Linked DNA regions of Homo sapiens: region 2 is linked to region 1. Evidence: promoter capture Hi-C in human tissues and cell types (Jung and others, 2019). All regions are on one chromosome and are shown on one strand. The core of a region is centred on a gene start or on the middle of the fragment in contact, and the rest is flanking DNA. Distances in the headings are between cores, read along the strand shown. Region 1 holds the start of EFEMP1 (EGF containing fibulin extracellular matrix protein 1). Region 2 overlaps LOC112268416 (a long non-coding RNA gene).

Region 1 (3,640 bases), core at 31-2,530:
ATAGCCAAGTGGTGAAGCTAAACTCAGTCTAGGCTTACTTGATAGTACACTAACATTAAATGTCTAGGAGTAAATATCTAAAACAAACTGTAAGTCTTCTCTATTTACCATACAAATTATTCAAGTGAACTGCCATTTTTGCCTGGCTTGAAAGATACTTTTCAGAAGAATGGGCTCATATACACATGCACGCGCGCACACACACACACACAATGGAATACTATTTAGCCTTAAAAACGCATATATATCTAAAATATATGTGTGTACATATTTTATATATATATGTGTTTATATATATAATATATATTATATTTGTATACACACACACATATATGCCACATTTTCTTTATCCATTTATCCCTTGATGGACACTTAGGTTGATTCCATATCTTGGCAATTGTGAATAGTGCTGCAATAAACATGAAAGTACAGACGTCTCTTCAACACACTGATTTCAAATCTTCCCAGTAAATACCCAGAAATGAGATTGCTGGATCATATGATAATTCTACTTTCAGTTTTTTGAGAAACCTCCATACAATTTTCCATCATGTTTGTACTAATTTACATTCCACCAACAGCATACAAGCATTCCCTTTTCTCCATTCTTGCCAACACTTGTTATCATAAAGGGAGGTTTGAGAGACCATAAAACAAACCCCACCTCACAATTTTGTTAGTGCAAGTTCTATTTGGCCTATTCCCAACACTAAGCACACAGTAGGTGGCAAATATTTGTTGAATGGATGAATTCTCATTTTTCTCCATTTGTGGAAGCAGACACCTCCTCAAAAAAAAAAAAAAATCCGAAAGAAAAGGTAAAGGAAACAGTTCTATGAATGGGGGTTAATTTACTCTCCTAGCATTCACTTATTGGGAAAAAAAGTAACAGCAGTTTCTAGAACCCTCTGGTCTCTGAGGGAGATGCTGTGTTCCCCTCCTCAGAGAAGAAGAAAACGCACTAGAGAGTGGGAGCATCCCCAAGGCTGAAGCGCATCCAGGACATCACATGTCAACGTGTCCTCTCTGGCGTGGGGTCCCCGCGAGTCTGGGAAACGAGGAGCTGGCAAGGGAGGGCAAGCGGGGGCGGCAAAGAGGGCCCCTGGAGCAGGGGGCGCGGACCTCGCTGCGCTGCGCGCTCTACCGCCGGGCTCGCAACGCTGGGCTCAGCGCTCGCGCCTCCCTCAGCTCTCTCCTCCGCCCCCCTTCGCCCTCCCCCTTTCCCTCCCTTTCTCCTCCTCCTCCTGCCGCCGCGGCCGCTGCCGGACTTCGCCAGATCAGACCCACGGGGCTGCCCTCCCCTGCGCACTCCCCTCGCTGCCCGGGCCCGGAGCGCAGCGCGGCCGCACAGGTAGGAGCCCCCAACGGGGGGTCGCCCCGAGCGAGCCCAGTACTCACTGGGCCGCGCGCGGGAGAGTGAGGTGGGGTGAGCTGAGGGGTGTTGAGTACCCGAGAACTGCCCTGGACTGTGCAGGGTGTCTCGGGCAGAGAGGGAGGTGGAGGTGTGCAGCCTCGGAATGCGATCTGTCAGCAAGTGCGAGTACTCGGGTGACATCTGTTGGGATGGGCATGTGTGTGCGCGCCGACAACCAGCCGGCAGGGCTTTGCCCATAAACGTGGTTTTGAAAGTTTAGGGGACCAGTGTGCGAGATTTAAGCCGCACCTGGATTCCATAGGAGCTGGTTAGAAGCTGGGACGCTGAGCAGCTCCAGGGGACCGCCGCGTTAGCTTGCTGTTAAGAAAGGGGACCTCATCTCCCTGCCGGGCCAGGCCGCCCGCCCGAAACTGGTACCTTGGGCTGCGGTGCGATCCCTGGTTCCGGTCCTAGGCAGCCTGAAACCGAAGGTAGCGTGTCGGGGACCCAGACTGATAAGACAAAAGAGAATCAGTCGCTTTGGGCTGCCCCTCCACACAACCTGGGACTTTTAAACAAAGCTGTGCGCAGAGAAAGGCGTGGAAATGCCACTTTGAGAGTTTGTGCTGGGGGATGTGAGAAGCTCTGAGACATGTGAGAAGGTCTAGTATTCTACTAGAACTGGAAGATTGCTCTCCGAGTTTTGTTTTGTTATTTTGTTTAAAAAATAAAAAGCTTGAGGCCAAGGCAATTCATATTGGCTCACAGGTATTTTTGCTGTGCTGTGCAAGGAACTCTGCTAGCTCAAGGTGAGTATACTGGGAAAGCCTTAACGTTCTAGAGAACAGAGTTTTGCAGCCCCACCTCCATCCCCCGGGGTGTGGGACTGGGGGGCAGGAAATGCACCGTCCCCTTTGAAATGGATTACTGTTTTTTCCTTTCGACCCCCTCTTTCTGCAGCCTGCTTTGTAGGTGCAGTATAAAATGCACGCTGAATGTCTTTTGTATGTAAACAGCGTAGCAGGATGGAGTAACGTGAAATGCAATTCTACAGCAGTTTTTACGTCTTTGCTGCCTCGTTCGTTGGCTACCGAGAAGGTTCAGGAGGGGGAGGGGAGATGAGAAAGCAGATTGGAAGTTGAGTATGGTGGAGCCTCAGCCTCTCCCACCCTCCTTTCCTCGCTTGTGCTCACTGCTAAAGTTTTGTTACTTTCCCCGCAGCAGATACTAAACATTAGTTTGTCCTGTATTTTCTTTGAGATTCACAATGTTGAAAGCCCTTTTCCTAACTATGCTGACTCTGGCGCTGGTCAAGTCACAGGACACCGAAGAAACCATCACGTACACGGTAAGGGGTGATGGAATTTGAAATAAGTACGGTTCAGCGGGATTCTGTGACAAAAAAAGACTTTACACACCCCTGCCAGTGTATTTGGGCTATACTCTGCTGAGGGTGATAAATTAAACAACACTTCATTCATGCTTCATATCTAAGATTCGTTGTAAATTGCCCCCTTGATCCTTTCAAAAGTTCATTGGGCTCACCACCTAAGATAGGAACCAACATGTAATCATTTGTGCAGGGCTAAAAATGGGATCCGTTCAAAAACTAAAACCAAAGAAAGTTACATGTTTCCAAAACATTCAACAAATTAATGGGTGTAAGGAACTGGAAAACCTGGACTCCTACCACATGCAGATAAAACCAATACGTGCAGAATAAGACTCAAGTCAAGTAAGAACGTTAAACACCATAAAGACACATGGCCTTCTTTGTGTACATGACATGCATTCTCAAGTAAGTGGCCTTTATTGAATTTATAAAGGCTATATATTCATTCTTTTTGTATAACTTGATAATTCTAATAAATAAAGGCAGACAACAGTTTATGTGTTACCAGGATGCATATTGGCTAAAGTGGTTTTAAAACGTAATGTGTGCAACTCCGTTTTGCATTTTCTAATTAGCGTCTCTGATATTTCCAAGTAATATTTGATTAGTTAGTTGCATAGGTGTAACCAATGTTTAATAAAATATTAAAAAGATCACCTGACCCCTCCCACTGCTACAAATAGTTGTGGTGAGAACAGAGAAGGACAGTACTGACTTCACTTCTGGTGAGTTTGTTTGCACCTCTGTTCTGTGTTTTCTTGTCTTTAATCAGTGTTAGGCAAATGACATTTGTCCTGGATTGGAATATGAAAAGCACATTTTTCTACTGCTCCCAGTTTAAAATTAAGTAATCCTACTCGAAAGAATGTGAAAAATTTTTGAAAAGAAAACTC
Region 2 (3,231 bases), core at 223-2,722, 63 kb after region 1:
TCTGGCTGCATGACTTTTTCATCGCTGCTTTCACATGCAATCGGATTGAAATAACATAGATACCACCAACCTGATTCTTATAACCTTCTTGAACTGTAGTTTATTGTTCTCTTTAACTCCAGACAGGCAGAAGTAATTGTGTTACCCAAAATACTCCTGAATTCTGGAAACTGAAATGCAAACACCAGTCATGTAGACCTCACTATACTTGAGAGGACAGCAGTTTCCAGAAGAAAAGAGGCCATTAGTAGAGATCCAGATGGATCTCTACCAATAATGGGGAGCTTTGAGAGCAATAGTGATTGATACGGTTTGGATGTTTCTCCCCTCCAAATCTCATGTTGCAATGTGACCTCCAATGTTGGAGGTGGGGCCTGGTGGAAAGTGTTTGGGTCATGGGGTGGGTCCCTCATGACTGGCTTGGTGCCCTCCCTGCAGGAACACATTCACATGAGAGCTGGTTATTTAAAGAAGTCTGGCTCCTCCTCATTTCCCTTGCTCCTGTTCTGGCCATGTGATATACCTACTTCCCTGCTTCGCTTTCCACCATGATTGTAAGCTTCCGGAGGTCTTCACCAGAAGCAGACGGTGGTATCACATTACCCGTATAGCCTGCAGAATCGTGAACCAATTAATCCTCTTTTCTTTATAAATTACCCAGTTCAGGTATTTATTTATAGCAATGCAAGGGCGACCTAACACAGTGGTGAAGATAGAATGAGTCTAACACTCCCCTGGTCCAGGAGCTGGACAAAAAAGCATACAGCGTCCTTCCTGCTGTAAGGATTATTATAAAGCCAAGGGTAAAGAACATTGCCGTTCCTTGACACTGGTTAACATTCATTAGGTGAATTTCGAAGGTGCAAATATGTACAAGGAACATCATCACCTAACAGCTTCTGTTTTAGAGGCTGAGAGTAAGACAAGATATGACACTATTAAGAACTCAGTCCTCAATGGGGCTTTAGGTTCTTGCACATGTGAAAATGGCAAAAATACATAGGTATTTTTTAAATTATAATTTAAAAATATAAGTATTGAAGAGTAGAAATCAGCTAGAAACCAATCCCCATATCTAGTACATGTACTAATTTCTACCACTCTTCATTTACAAGGGAGATGCTTTAGTGAATTCAAATGATGGAAATGGAAAGATTGTTCAGTACCCTAAGGCCACCTGAACACAGCCCAGTGGGATTATTATTTTTGGGGAAGCTTCACAAATAAAAGTTTATTGTTGAGTCTTGTTTCCATGACTTCAAGCGGTTGCTTGTGTTTTGAATAGTTATGTATGCTTCTAACTTTCTAACGCTCCTTTTAAAATATAGAACAGCTGCTGGTCTGCTCATATGTTATGCATAAGAAGCCCACAAGGGACAAGGCCCTCTATTAATATGTTGAATTATTTTTAACACAGTTTTACTTCTATCCCAAATCATCATCTCTAAAAGATGGCAAACTTCCATCTTCCCAGCTGGGGGGAGCACCTGCAAAATTCAAACCCAAATTGTGACACATCTGGTACCCAAAAACCAATCTTGTTTCATCTGGCCAGCAGACTAAAATATCAAGATCGTTGAACAGAAACAAGGCAAAAAGTTAACTGCCTCTTATATGCAGTCAATGCAGATGTCTAGTTAAGCTGTTTATATAGTAAGCGCATGTGTATGTTAACGGAGCACAGACCCCTTTAATAAGCCAGAGTTGGAATATAAATGCAAGAGAATTTTAAAGACCTGAATGCAATAATTCGGTTCTTTTTTATCTTCCCATAGAAACTAAAGTAGTTTCTGCAAAATCTCAGCATGATATTTAAACAGATGCATATAACACAAATGATTTTGTTGAGTTGAGTATCTCCAAATTGTTTATTTCCTTTAAAAACCCCATTTTATGTTTTTGTATTTTAATATTTACATTATGTTTATTTAAGTGGTAAATTACTTGCAAATGGCTTAAACAAGGTGTCTTGGTTTGTGTTGCCCCAGATGCAGATTCGGACATAAAAACTGAGTTCTGGTAGGTTGAGAGGTTCTCTTGGGAAGCAAACTTGAGTGAGTGGGGAAAGTGAGCCAGAAAGAGATGCCAATGAATTCGTGAGTAAATGAGTGGATCACCTCTGTGAGCAACTGTAGCTCAAGTCCTCTGATAAATCATATGGAACTCACCTGAGAAACATTCCACTAGAGGCCACATGGGCTGCAGCATTTATCTACCAACTCCCGTCCCTGTGGTAAGTGTTGCCCATACACACTGCCTGCAGGAGGGTGTGCTTCCTCATACTGGAGAAAGCCCTCAGGCAGAGGGTAAGAAAGATAGGGGTTTGATAGAGGATGCTGTTGGCAAACTAGAAACTGCTACTGCACCATGCAGTAAACTCATATGGCTAAGGAGATCTGCGGCAGACATCAACATTTGCTGACTGACGCCAGTGCAATGCTAGATGATTCTGACAAATGGAGCTTCTGTTACTTACTGGCTTGATGGCTTCATACCACATAAATCTCTTCCTTGACCTTTTTCTGGTCATTCTCCCATCTTTTCTTCCTTTTCCTCTCTCATTCTCTTCTTCTGCTCAGGCACTAACCATGTCCAAGGCTAATGGACATGGTTCAGCCAATGACACTGAATTAGATTCAAGGACACATATAATACTATGCAAAGTGGTACTGTATAGTTAATACCACGAGCCTATCTGATTCTAGAGCTCATCACAAGTCCAATTGCAGAGTACTAAATAGAATGAGTAGCCCTTCAAAAGTGAATGTTCAGGGAAGCTAATGAAGCTAAAGCTTCAAGGCTCCTCCCTTGCACCAGCCCCTTCCAAGGTCCTGAAAGGGACCCTATGTTCACATAGTTATATATTTTTGTAAAATTTGTATAATACATTTTAGCTGTATTGGTTAGAATTACTCTTTCATCTTGGGCTCCCCTCATCACACTTCACATGTCACGTGGCTCTGAAGTGCGTCAAAAGTATGTTTGAGATCCAGCCTGGGAAAGTGGAGTTAGGAGAGTGTATTTAGTTTGGATTTAGTAGGATATATTTATATAGTTAACATTCATTTCTATGTATGGTTAATTTGAGCTCCTGTCTGGGGTAGGAATAGCCTCTAGAAATATTCCCACCACCCTCTGTGTTGACCATAGCTGACAGCATGCCCAAAAGTTCAGGGCCAGGAGTCCCATCACACTATAACATTCTACAGCATCCAACAATGGATGTAAATA

Evidence for each region. The method cuts DNA at HindIII sites, captures the fragments that hold promoters and counts their contacts. A contact is called where the count stands out against the background at its distance.
Region 2: a fragment that was not itself captured here is called in contact with the fragment with the promoter of EFEMP1 in region 1 in 3 of the 25 tissues and cell types used here (adrenal gland, aorta and mesenchymal stem cells).

The regions. Positions count from the first base shown.
Region 1 is chr2:55,921,422-55,925,061 of GRCh38, reverse strand. It overlaps EFEMP1 (EGF containing fibulin extracellular matrix protein 1), which reads left to right and starts at 1,280. Exons shown (of 12, transcript NM_001039348.3): 1 at 1,280-1,351; 2 at 2,123-2,163; 3 at 2,615-2,702. The coding sequence starts at 2,622. RefSeq lists an enhancer at 1,221-1,720. The HindIII fragment of the contact is 10,259 bases long and covers 1-3,640 here.
Region 2 is chr2:55,859,153-55,862,383 of GRCh38, reverse strand. All of the region lies in intron 2 of LOC112268416 (a long non-coding RNA gene), which reads right to left. Among named protein-coding and RNA genes, the nearest start is that of EFEMP1, 63 kb to the left of the region's middle. The HindIII fragment of the contact is 4,085 bases long and covers 1-3,231 here.